Linked DNA regions of Homo sapiens: region 2 is linked to region 1. The links are contacts of gene promoters, found by promoter capture Hi-C in human tissues and cell types (Jung and others, 2019). All regions are on one chromosome and are shown on one strand. The core of a region is centred on a gene start or on the middle of the fragment in contact, and the rest is flanking DNA. Distances in the headings are between cores, read along the strand shown. Region 1 holds the start of IFI30 (IFI30 lysosomal thiol reductase). Region 2 holds the start of UPF1 (UPF1 RNA helicase and ATPase).

The links. The method cuts DNA at HindIII sites, captures the fragments that hold promoters and counts their contacts. A contact is called where the count stands out against the background at its distance.
Region 2: the fragment with the promoter of UPF1 here is called in contact with the fragment with the promoter of IFI30 in region 1 in 3 of the 25 tissues and cell types used here (adrenal gland, bladder and thymus).

What each region holds. Positions count from the first base shown.
Region 1 is chr19:18,172,515-18,178,363 of GRCh38, forward strand. It overlaps IFI30 (IFI30 lysosomal thiol reductase), which reads left to right and starts at 1,299. Exons shown (of 7, transcript NM_006332.5): 1 at 1,299-1,459; 2 at 2,526-2,708; 3 at 2,797-2,871; 4 at 3,091-3,183; 5 at 4,626-4,778; 6 at 5,197-5,250; 7 at 5,335-5,603. The coding sequence starts at 1,328. The coding sequence ends at 5,397. RefSeq lists a silencer at 1,044-1,353 and enhancers at 1,664-1,733, 1,861-2,526. The HindIII fragment of the contact is 16,563 bases long and covers 1-5,849 here.
Region 2 is chr19:18,830,139-18,835,698 of GRCh38, forward strand. UPF1 (UPF1 RNA helicase and ATPase) reads left to right here and starts at 1,821. Exons shown (of 24, transcript NM_002911.4): 1 at 1,821-2,302. The coding sequence starts at 2,072. RefSeq lists silencers at 1,625-1,884, 2,005-2,104, 2,255-2,344, 2,355-2,434 and an enhancer at 4,016-4,568. The HindIII fragment of the contact is 23,837 bases long and covers 1-5,560 here.

The DNA of each region.
Region 1 (5,849 bases), core at 49-2,548:
TCCAGCCACTGGGACTTCAGAGAAGCTCCGGCTCCCAAACCAGCTACTGTGTGTGTGGCCAGGGTCTTCCCCACAACTAGAGGGGGGCACAGCTGGGGACTCAGGTATATCTTCCAGCTGGGTGTGGGACATTTTCTTCCCTAGGATCCGATGTGTCTTGCCCTGAATGTAAGGCCTGGCAGGGTTGGAATGTCTCAGTTATTCCCCCAACACTCCAGCCTCCATCTGGGCCTTTTTTCCAGGCTATTCTCTCTGCCTTCACTGTTGGGGCCACTGTCCTGTGTAGGCACCAAGGCCTGACCATGCCATCCAGAAGCCCCAGCCTGGGACAACTCTCCCCCACCTGCCTCTGAGCCCTCCATGGTGACTCTTGTTCCCCAAACCTTATCCTTCTCCCCATTACACAGAAGGGAAAGCTGAGGCTCTGTCACTCAAATCCAAAGCCAGGTGGACTCCAAGCCACCCCACCCCTATCCCAGACAGCACAGGCTGCCTCTCTCCCCCATGGGCGTCCCTTGAAGGCCAGGTTGCCCCCCACCCCCCACAAGCCTTGAACGATGAAAAGAAGGAAGGCCAGTTCTCTTCACCCCAAGCCAGAAGTGGGGCTGGGTGGGTACCCTAGAGAAATGACACGCCACTCCCTGCGCCAGCTTCTGCTTTCCGGCGTGGCTGTGGTCAAGCCTGAGTCAGTCCCACGGGACCACGGTGAGGGGTCTGGAGCGTCGGGGTCAGGAGTTTGAGGGGGGAAGGGTTGAGGGGCAGGATGTGGGGGTTGGGTGTGAGGGAGGTCACGGGCGAGACTGGAGGGAGGAGACCTGGCCACACAGGCCTTGCCCACTCTCGGGGGCCTGAATATTTCAGTTACTCCCCCAAAACCCCGGCCTCCATCCCATCCCCAGCCTCCATCCGACGTCACCCCTGTTAGGTCACAGGCCCACTCTGAGAGTGGGTCTCGGGCCTCAAGTCCCCTAGCCGCCCCTAGAAGGTCTAGGGGTGCGTGGAGACACCACCATTCCTCTCAGCCTGTGTCTGTCTCAAAGGCCCCACCTCACCTCCCCTAAAGGTAGTCTTGCGCCAGGGCTCACGTGCCTGGGCAGGGCTGATTGCCAAGGGGCCCAATGGCCTCGTGACTGGGGACCCAGCACCTGGCAGGGGTGGGGGTGGGACACTCAGAGGAAGGAGTGGAGGAGGGAGAGACGCTGGCCCGGGACCCGAGGGGCGTGGGCATCGGGAGGCGGGCCCGGGTTAGGGGCGGGACCGCCGCCTGGTTAAAGGCGCTTATTTCCCAGGCAGCCGCTGCAGTCGCCACACCTTTGCCCCTGCTGCGATGACCCTGTCGCCACTTCTGCTGTTCCTGCCACCGCTGCTGCTGCTGCTGGACGTCCCCACGGCGGCGGTGCAGGCGTCCCCTCTGCAAGCGTTAGACTTCTTTGGGAATGGGCCACCAGTTAACTACAAGGTAGGGACGGCGACAGGGCGGGCAGGCTGGAGGGAACAGGCGCCCTGTCGGGGCACGCGGCTCCTTCTTTCTCCCCAGACTTCACAGGGGAAGACCAGGGCCCCGAGGGGACGCTGTCCCTGCCGGGTTCCTGGAAAAACCCTGTTCAGTTCCCGGCGCTGCGGCCACACTCCCTCCGTGCCGTTTCGCTTTCGCATCCCGCATCTGAGAGGCGCAGCTGCCTCCACCCGCCTAGTCCCGCCCAAGGGTTCAATGAGCGCCTACTGTGTACTTTTGGGGCAGGAGCTGGGGTCTCCTTTTGTGGCCCAGGGCACAAGTTCAGCAGCTGGCCAAGGGCCGCCGGCATGCATTCTTGCTGCTACCCTTGATGCATTCATTCCAGCCAGGGCAGGGCTCGCGTGTCTTTGGGACCTATTAGGCAGATGCCCTAGAGGCTGAGCGACTTGCTCACCGCTCCAGCGACATGGGCCACCCGCCACCCCTCAGCTGAAGCCGGAAGTCAGCACCTATTAGGTGCCGCCTCTATTCAGTCGGACTTGGAAAGGGTTCACGTGGATCCCTTGCTCAGCTCAGAGGCAAGGTCTCCAGGTGAAGTGACAAGAAATGAGCATGGGCCAAGGCCGGAGGCGGTGGCTCATGCCTGTAATCCCAACACTTTGGAAGTCTGAGGCAGGCAGATCACGAGGTCAGGAGTTCGAGACCATTCTGGCCTACATGGAGAAACCCTGTCTCTACTAAAAATACAAAAATTAGCTGGGTGTGGTGGCATGTGCCTATAATCCCAGCTACTCAGGAGGCTGAGGCAGGACAATTGCTTGAACCAGGGAGTCGGGTGTTGCAGTGAGCCGAGATCGTGCCGCAGCACACCAGCCTAGCGACAGTGAGACTCCATCTCAAAAAAAAAAAAAAAAGTCTCAAAGTCAAGATTCCACCTGGCAAGTTCTGGAAGGCGTGCAAGATGAATTGCGTATCACAGCCCCCTTTCTACAAGACTACCAAGTGGGGTTGAGAGAAGTGGGGAACTGCCCAGGGCTACACCTGCCTCCCACGCCTTCCTAATCCACAGACAGGCAATCTATACCTGCGGGGGCCCCTGAAGAAGTCCAATGCACCGCTTGTCAATGTGACCCTCTACTATGAAGCACTGTGCGGTGGCTGCCGAGCCTTCCTGATCCGGGAGCTCTTCCCAACATGGCTGTTGGTCATGGAGATCCTCAATGTCACGCTGGTGCCCTACGGAAACGCACAGGTGTGTGGGCGCTGGGGAAACTGAGGCACGTGGGCAGGGGAGCAGGGGACCCAGCCTACCAGCAGGCTCTCACCCTGCTGCCTTGCAGGAACAAAATGTCAGTGGCAGGTGGGAGTTCAAGTGCCAGCATGGAGAAGAGGAGTGCAAATTCAACAAGGTGGAGGTGAGCGGCCCCAGGGCCCCACACTGGGGTGGGGGAAAACTGTCCCACGTACAGGAGGCAAATACGAGGATGCCAGCTCTGTCTTCTGCCTCGTGTGCTCCCATTTAATCACATCTTTATTCCCTATCTCCTGGGTGGGTACTGGTGATTATTACGAGAGGGTGTCAGGGTACCCTAGGCCCTCTTCATGCCCTCTCCTGCCCCCTCTCCAAACCCCAGGCCTGCGTGTTGGATGAACTTGACATGGAGCTAGCCTTCCTGACCATTGTCTGCATGGAAGAGTTTGAGGACATGGAGAGAAGTCTGCCACTAGTGAGTGACGCCCCTCACTCCACCCAAGGAGGGGGACATGGGTGGTAACCTTCCCTGCATCCAGGCAGACCCAAATTCAAGTCCTAGCCCTGACCACTGCTGTCTGTGCAGCCCAGGAAAACAACTACCCTTCTTTATTTTATTTATTTTTTTATTTTTTCTTGAGACAGAGTCTCGCTCTGTCGCCCAGGCTGGAATGCAGTGGCGCAATCCCAGCTCACTGCAACCTCCACCTCCAGGGTTCAAGTGATTCTCCAGCCTCAGCCTCCTGAGTAGCTGGGATTACAGTTGTGTGCCACCATGCCCAGCTAATTTTTGTGTTTTTAGTAGAGACAGGGTTTCACCATGTTGGTCAGGCTTGTCTTGAACTCCTGACCTTGTGATCCGCCTGCCTTGGCCTCCCAAAGTGCTGGGATTACAGGCGTGAGCCACCGCACCCAGCCCTTTTTTTTTTTTTTTTTTTTTTTTTTTTTTTGAGACAGGGTTTTGCTCTGTCGCCCAGGCTGGAGTGCAGTGGTGCAATCTTGGCTGACTGCAACCACTGTCTCCTCAGTTTAAGTGATCCTCCTGCCTCAGCTTCCCCAGTAGCTGGGACTACAGGTGTGCACCACCATGCCCGGCTAATTTTTGTATTTTTAGTAGAGACAGTGTTCACCATGTTGGCCAGGCTGGTCTCAAACTCCTGACCTCAAGTTATCCGCCTGTCCCAGCCTCCCAAAGGATTACAGGTGTAAGCCACCACGCCCGGCCCCAGCCTCCCCTCTTGAAGCCTCCATCTCTGAATCAGGGGAATGAATGCAGGTCTCTTAGGAGCATGAGTGATCACAGAGGACTTACTGGAGGAGGCATTTCTGAGCTGGGCATGGAAGGATGAGCAGGAATGTGCAGAGACACAGATGATGGGATGTGGAGATGATAGGACAGACCCCACCTACTTCCCCGGGGGATTGTGAAGAATGACTCCCAGAGAAGTGACTCATTGGCTCCAATCATTTATTCATTCATCAAACATCCGGGTCACCCAAGAGGCCTCACCTAGTGACACCCTAGTCCTGCAGGGTTAGATCAGGGCTGAGAGAGTGGCAAGGAGAGGGCACTGAGGAGACACTGTGGAAGGAGGATGAAGGGTGTTCCTGGCAGAGGGATCAGCCTGTGTGGAGGTCCTGAGTAAAGTGAGATACTATGGGGGTCAGAGGCAGTGGGTCTGGTCTTAGGGATGAAACCAAGGGAGCTAGGAGGCAGGAGCAGCCCAAGCCCTGCCTTAGGGGCCTCCACTCAAGCATGTATTGAGCACCTGCTGTTTGTGGGCTTTGTCGCATCACTGTGAAGCCAACTGTACCCTCTTCTCAGTGACGAAACAGGCTTGGCTCAGGGCTGGTGGGCGGGACCGTTGAGATAACGGGGAGGAAGCTGAGGCAACCCCCTGCTCCCCACCCACCCAGTGCCTGCAGCTCTACGCCCCAGGGCTGTCGCCAGACACTATCATGGAGTGTGCAATGGGGGACCGCGGCATGCAGCTCATGCACGCCAACGCCCAGCGGACAGATGCTCTCCAGCCACCACACGAGTATGTGCCCTGGGTCACCGTCAATGGGGTAAGAATCTTTTTAGCCCTCAGCTTGACACTCATAGTCCCATGGAGTCAGGGATGGACAAGACAGAGGGACCAGAGATAAAGGAACCCAGGCGGAGGTTGCAGTGAGCTGAGATCATGCCACTGCACTCCAGCCTGGGCAACAAGAGCAAAACTTGATAGCTTTGCATAGGGAAAGAGGGCATTGATGCTGGGGTTTTGAAAGGTGAGTAGGAGTCCATCAGGCAAAAAAAGTATGTATTAATTCGAAGTATTAAACATCCCTAGCCACCCCCATTGGGAAAGATGTGCCACTGATTTGCGAGGCGGGAGGCGGGGGCCAGACTTGGGAATATGTGCAGCCCTTTCTGGGCTGGAACCAGGGTGCATGGGTTGGGGTAGCTGCTGGGAATATGCGACCCCTGTCTTGCTTTGTGCAGAAACCCTTGGAAGATCAGACCCAGCTCCTTACCCTTGTCTGCCAGTTGTACCAGGTAAGCTGGGAGGGGAGCAGTGGGATTCAGGTGGTGGGGGTAGGGTCTCCTTCCAGGACCCCAACTCATGGCCTTCACCTCCAGGGCAAGAAGCCGGATGTCTGCCCTTCCTCAACCAGCTCCCTCAGGAGTGTTTGCTTCAAGTGATGGCCGGTGAGCTGCGGAGAGCTCATGGAAGGCGAGTGGGAACCCGGCTGCCTGCCTTTTTTTCTGATCCAGACCCTCGGCACCTGCTACTTACCAACTGGAAAATTTTATGCATCCCATGAAGCCCAGATACACAAAATTCCACCCCATGATCAAGAATCCTGCTCCACTAAGAATGGTGCTAAAGTAAAACTAGTTTAATAAGCCCTTCTGGATGGTGTAATTAATTTGATAAGTCAGCCATTCCCCCTTCCCCAGGCCTGGCAAAACCCGCTCTCTACTAAAAATACAAAAATTAGCCAGGCGCGGTGGCGGGCGCCTGTAATCCCAGCTACTTGGGAGGCTGAGGCAGGAGAATTGCTTGAACCCGGCAGGCAGAGGTTGCAGTGAGCCGAAATCGCGCCACTGTGCTCCAGCCTGGGCGACAAGAGCAAAATTCCATCTCAAAATTT
Region 2 (5,560 bases), core at 571-3,070, 660 kb after region 1:
CTGTAGGAATATAAACAATGAATAAAAGTAGGTCTCCCTCTCCAAGAAGGCACAGTTTAAGGGGGAATACTGACAGACCAACAGATAATTTTAATATCATGCAAAGCTCTCTTTGGAACACATCCAGTGGAATTTGTAGACAAATTTCAGATCAATTTAGTAACACCTATCAGAGTTTTTAAAATTTATTTTTATACAAGGTCTTGCTCTTTTGGCCTCCGAAAGTGCTGGGATTACAGGCGTGACACACCGCACCGGGCTCCATATATATCAGCAGCAACCATATATCACATGAGAGTATGAGAGGAATAAATGAGCTACTAGTCACTCTATTTATATTAACATAAATAAATATATATTAATATACACACACACACATAGGATCTCTGTCACCCAGGCTGGAGTGCAGTGGCACAATCATAGCTCACCGCAGCCTCAAACTCCTGAGCTCAAGTGATTCTCTTGCCTCTACCTCCTAAAGTGCTGGGATTTCAGGAAAGAGCCACCTTGCCCAGGCTTCCTATGCCACCTTAATGGCAACAGAAACCCTAGGCTCAGAGAGGTTAAGTCACTTGTATAATTTCACACAGCTGGTAAGTGGTCAGGTCTAGAGTCCACCACAGACCATGTGCTTCCAGTTGTTTTGCTGTATACGTCCACTAAATAATAATCATAGCAAAAATAGTAATGGTATAATAACAGTGGCAGAGGCATCAGGAACAGCAGCAACCATCATTTCCAAGTGCCAGGCCCAGTACGTAAGACTATCCCCATTCATTTATTTTTACTTATTTTTGAGACAGGGTCTCGCTCTGTCACCCAGGCTGGAGTGCAGTGGTGCAATCTCGGCTTACTGCAGCCTCAACTTCCCAGGGTCAAGCGATCCTCCCACCTCAGCCTCCCTAGTAGCTGGGACTACAGGTGCGAACCACCACGCTTAGCTAATTTTTTTTTTTTTTTTTGAGACAGAGTCTCACTCTGTTGCCCAGGCTGGTGTGCAGTGGCACAATCTTGGCTCACTGCAACCTCCGCCTCCTGGGTTCAAGCGATTCTCCTGCCTCAGCCTCCTGAGTAGCTGGGACTACAGGCTCGTGCCACCACGCCTGGCTAATTTTTTGTATTTTTAGTGGAGACGGGGTTTCACCATGTTAGCCAGGATGGTCTCGATCTCCTGACGTCATGATCCACCCGCCTCGGCCTCCCAAAGTGCTGGGATTACAGGCGTGAGCCACCGCGCTCGGCCTAATTTTTATATTTTTTGTAGAGATGGAGTCTCACTCTGTCTCCCAGGCTGGTCTCGAACTCCTGAGTTCAAGCAGTTCTCCCGCCTCAGCCTCTGAGTGTTGGGATTACAGGTGTGACCACCGCGCCGAGCCCCACTCCCTTTTTAAACCAATGCACAGGGAGCATCTACTATGTGCGAGGCACCCTCCATTTTACAGATGGGGAAACTGAGTTCCAAGCAGCTTTTGCCAGGAGTGGGAGCGCACCGTCCCTGCCCAGTCTCTCCAGTTGGGCGTTCCGAGACCACCTATGTAGGGTATTCGGCTAGCGCTCAATTAAACCGAAACACCGTCGCAGCGACCACAGGTGCAGACCACCAAGTCCACACCGCCAGCCGCCCGGGCGTCCCCAATTAGCAGTTGGGGCGGGACCAAGTCCTCGAGCTGCCGCCGCAGCGGCGGTTGAAAGCCCCACCCCCTGCGCGTGCGCGGTGCGCGTCCCGTCTTCCTGCTGGGCACCAGGCGCCCGCGAAGAGCGCGCGCGCTTCCGCCGGCGTCGGGCTCGCGCACGCGCACGGCGACGGCGGCGGTGGCGGCAGTTCCTGCTCTAGGCTGCGAGCGGCTGGCGGCTTCGAGGGGAGCTGAGGCGCGGAGGGGCTCGGCGGCAGCGGCGGCGGCTCGGCACTGTTACCTCTCGGTCCGGCTGGCGCCGGGGCGCGCGGTTTGGTCCTTTCCGGGCGCGCGGGGGCGACAGCGGCAGCGACCCGAGGCCTGCGGCCTAGGCCTCAGCGCGGCGGCGGGCTCGAGTGCAGCGCGGAACCGGCCCGAGGGCCCTACCCGGAGGCACCATGAGCGTGGAGGCGTACGGGCCCAGCTCGCAGACTCTCACTTTCCTGGACACGGAGGAGGCCGAGCTGCTTGGCGCCGACACACAGGGCTCCGAGTTCGAGTTCACCGACTTTACTCTTCCTAGCCAGACGCAGACGCCCCCCGGCGGCCCCGGCGGCCCGGGCGGTGGCGGCGCGGGAGGCCCGGGCGGCGCGGGCGCGGGCGCTGCGGCGGGACAGCTCGACGCGCAGGTGAGCGGCACATGGCGGTGCCGGAAGCCCGGGCCCGGCCTCGGCGCCTGAGACCTGCCCCGAACTCGCCTCGGGCCCGGCCTGTGTTTGGCCGGAGTCCCCCATCGCGGCCGGGCCTGGGGCGATCTGCCCCGGGTCCCCTACTCTGGCTCGGCCTGAGCTTACCTGCCCCAGGTCCTGCAATCTGCCCGGGCCTGGCCTGATCTGCCCCGGGTCCCCCGCTCCGGCCGCGACCTGGCTGAGTTCCTTCGGCCCCCAACTCCTGGGCCGGGCAGACTTGCCTCGAGTCCTCCACTTCGTTCGGGACCGAGCTAACCTGACCCTGTTCCTTTACGCCAGCTGGGTTTGCTCCCCCTCCTGGGCCCGGGCTGACCTGCCTTGTGTCCCACAATCAGTCTGGCCTGGAGTAACCTGCCCCCTGACTTATCTGAGTTCTTCCATTCCATCCGGGCTAGGGTGACCTGCCCTGGTCCCTCTTTCGCAGGTCTCGGTATTCTGCCTCGAGTTCTCCTACGACCTGGGCCGGGTCTTGCTCAGGCCGGAGCTTGAGTGACTTCCCTCAGTCCCTTTCCGGGAGTATCCAGGGTGACCTGCCCTAATCCTGTCTCTGGCCTGGTCCGGGGGTCCTGCCCGGTCTCCCCATTGGTGGGTCTGGCCGCCTGTCCCACCTCCCATCTGTGGTCGCAGCCATCTGGGCACCCCACCTTTCACAGTCACGGAGCGTAGGTTCGACTTTCCCCATGCATAGGGGCGCTGGCCAGCGGAAGGTTGAGGCAGAGAAGAATTTTTGCCTCCCATGGAGGAGCACATATTGGCTGGCTATTAAGATCATTCAGGAAGCAGGTTGTATTTTGTTTTTTCTTGCATCGCCTGTTGCTGAAACCGACCTGTTACATAACTTCACAACTCTTGCCTTGGAAAAGTTGGGTTTGAGTTTTGTTCTTCCAATAAGACAGCAATAATGGCTTTACATAAACGAGTCTGCCACGTTGGAAACTTATTTTTAATGATGTGGATGTTTAGAGAAGGTTACTTAGGTATTTTAAATGGGGGCTTGGGTTGGGAGAAGTATCGGGCATGCATTTCCTGGTCCTGGGCGCTGCTTGCCTGGGGTGGGAGAGGGGCTGGGGGGGTGGCGCGTGTTGCACCGGGGTCCTGGGGAATGTCCTCATCACCCTCTGGATTTCAGGTTGCTTTCACCTTAGGCTTGCTTTGTGCCTGACCTCTCGCTCAGGTTTGTTTTCCTGAATGCTCCGACAGGAAGAAGCTCCGAGGCTTACCTTGGCACAGGTGTCCCTTGGCATATGCTGGTGTTTCAGAACTGGGGGAACCACTCCTTGCTCATCCAGAGTGAGCTCAGACCCTGTCCTTGCATGGGGGGCTTACGTGGTAGTCGATTGAGTCACTCTCGTGGGTAGACCACCCACTTGGGCTTTCTTTTAGCCCCTAATGGAAGCAAAAAACATTTGACTCATTCTAACCCCATATTCCTTAAAATAGAAGGTGGGGTGTGAGGAGAACAGGTGTGCACGTATGGGTGTTTTTTTCAGTTTTGTTTACATTTTGCGAAGGGAGGGAGGGAGAGAGGAGAGTTCTCCTGAAGAAGGGAGTCTGAGCTGCGGAGGCCCCACCTCCTTGTAGTTTTCATGCCCTGTAGACCTTTCTGCTTCCGCAGCTGTGAAATGGGGGTGGCAGTTAGATTTTTATTCCTTTTAAACATAAAGGAAACCTAGATCCATGTGTGAGTCGACTGTATACGCTGTCTGTAATCTGACGTCCAGCCTGTCGGGGAGACTCGGTAAAGATCTCTGTGGAGCAGTGAGCCATGAGCGTGACAGCGCGGATCGGGGGGTTGGCTGGGTGTGAAAGGTAATCATTTTCTTGTGAATCCTTTTAACTGTAGCGAGCATAAAACAGCAAACCTGGGGCAGCCTTTAGTTCTGCTTTTGTTTCTGGCATTCCGTTTGGGATTAATTGTGGGGCATGTCCTTCTCTTTCAGTTGAAACAATTGATTTTTTTTCCTGCACCTGAACACACTGGGCTGTACAAAAGGAGAGCATTAAAACGCTCCCCTGGAGGTAAACATTGCAGTTGAGCTCACTAGAATTCTGACGACATCAGAGGGTTTGTCCTGTGCTACTTGTAATTGACCCAGATGCCCCACCCACCTGTTACCTGTAATTTGGATTTGTTTGTGGGGAATGGGAGTGGTACCCCTTTGCATCACAAGGGGAAGAACGGAATTTGGGGGCAAGGAAGTCTATGAATATCATTCAAGGGAAAGCGGAAGAAAGTTATCTCTTGTGTGAATTGAAGGCAGTGTCTGCTAAGATATTTGGGAAGACTTTCCCTGTTTGTCCTCAGGAGTTGGCCGTGTAACCAGCTGTTAAGTTGGGGGCTCCTGGAAACTCTCATTCTGCTTTTTTAATTTTTATTTTACTGGGGAAGTGGCTATCAGCTGTCAAGTGCCCTGCAGTCACTTTTGCTTAGCGGCTTTATTGAAATAGAATTCACTTGCCACAACATACAATTTACCCATATAAAGTGTACAGTTCGGCGGCTTTTATTTAGTATATTCAGAGTTGTGCAGCCATTACCACAGTAAACTTTAGAACATTTTTGTCACCCCAGAGATAAACCCTGCACCCCTTAGCCCATCCGTCCTACCTCCACAGCCCCTGGCAACCACTCACCTGCTTTCTGTCTCAAGATGTGCCTGTTCTGGGCATTTCACATCAACGGAATCATATCATATATGGTGTTTTGTGTCTGGCTCCTTTCACTCTGCGTGATGTGTGAGAAGTAGCTACAAGGTGAGCTTCGTAGCTGTTCCCTGGCCGAGCATTCAGGAAAATGAACCTGATCGAGGTTCATCCACGCTGTGGTATGTGTCATCATTTCATTCCTTTTTTTTTTTTGAGACAGAGTCTCGCTCTGTTGCCCAGGCTGGGGTGCAGTGGCGTGATCTTGGCTCACTGCAACCTGTGCCTCCCAGGTTCAAGCGATTCTCCTGCCTCAGCCTCCCCAGTAGCTGGGATTACAGGTGCACACCACCATGCCCCGGCTAATTTTTGTATTTTTAGTAGAGACGGGGTTTCACCATGTTGGCCAGATGGTCTTGATTTCCTGACCATGTGGTCCACTTGCCTCGGCCTCCCAAAGTGCTGGGATTACAAGCATGAGCCACCGCACCTGGCCAGCATTTCATTCCTTTTTAAGGCTGAGTAATATTCCATGGGTGGAATGGTCCAGATGGA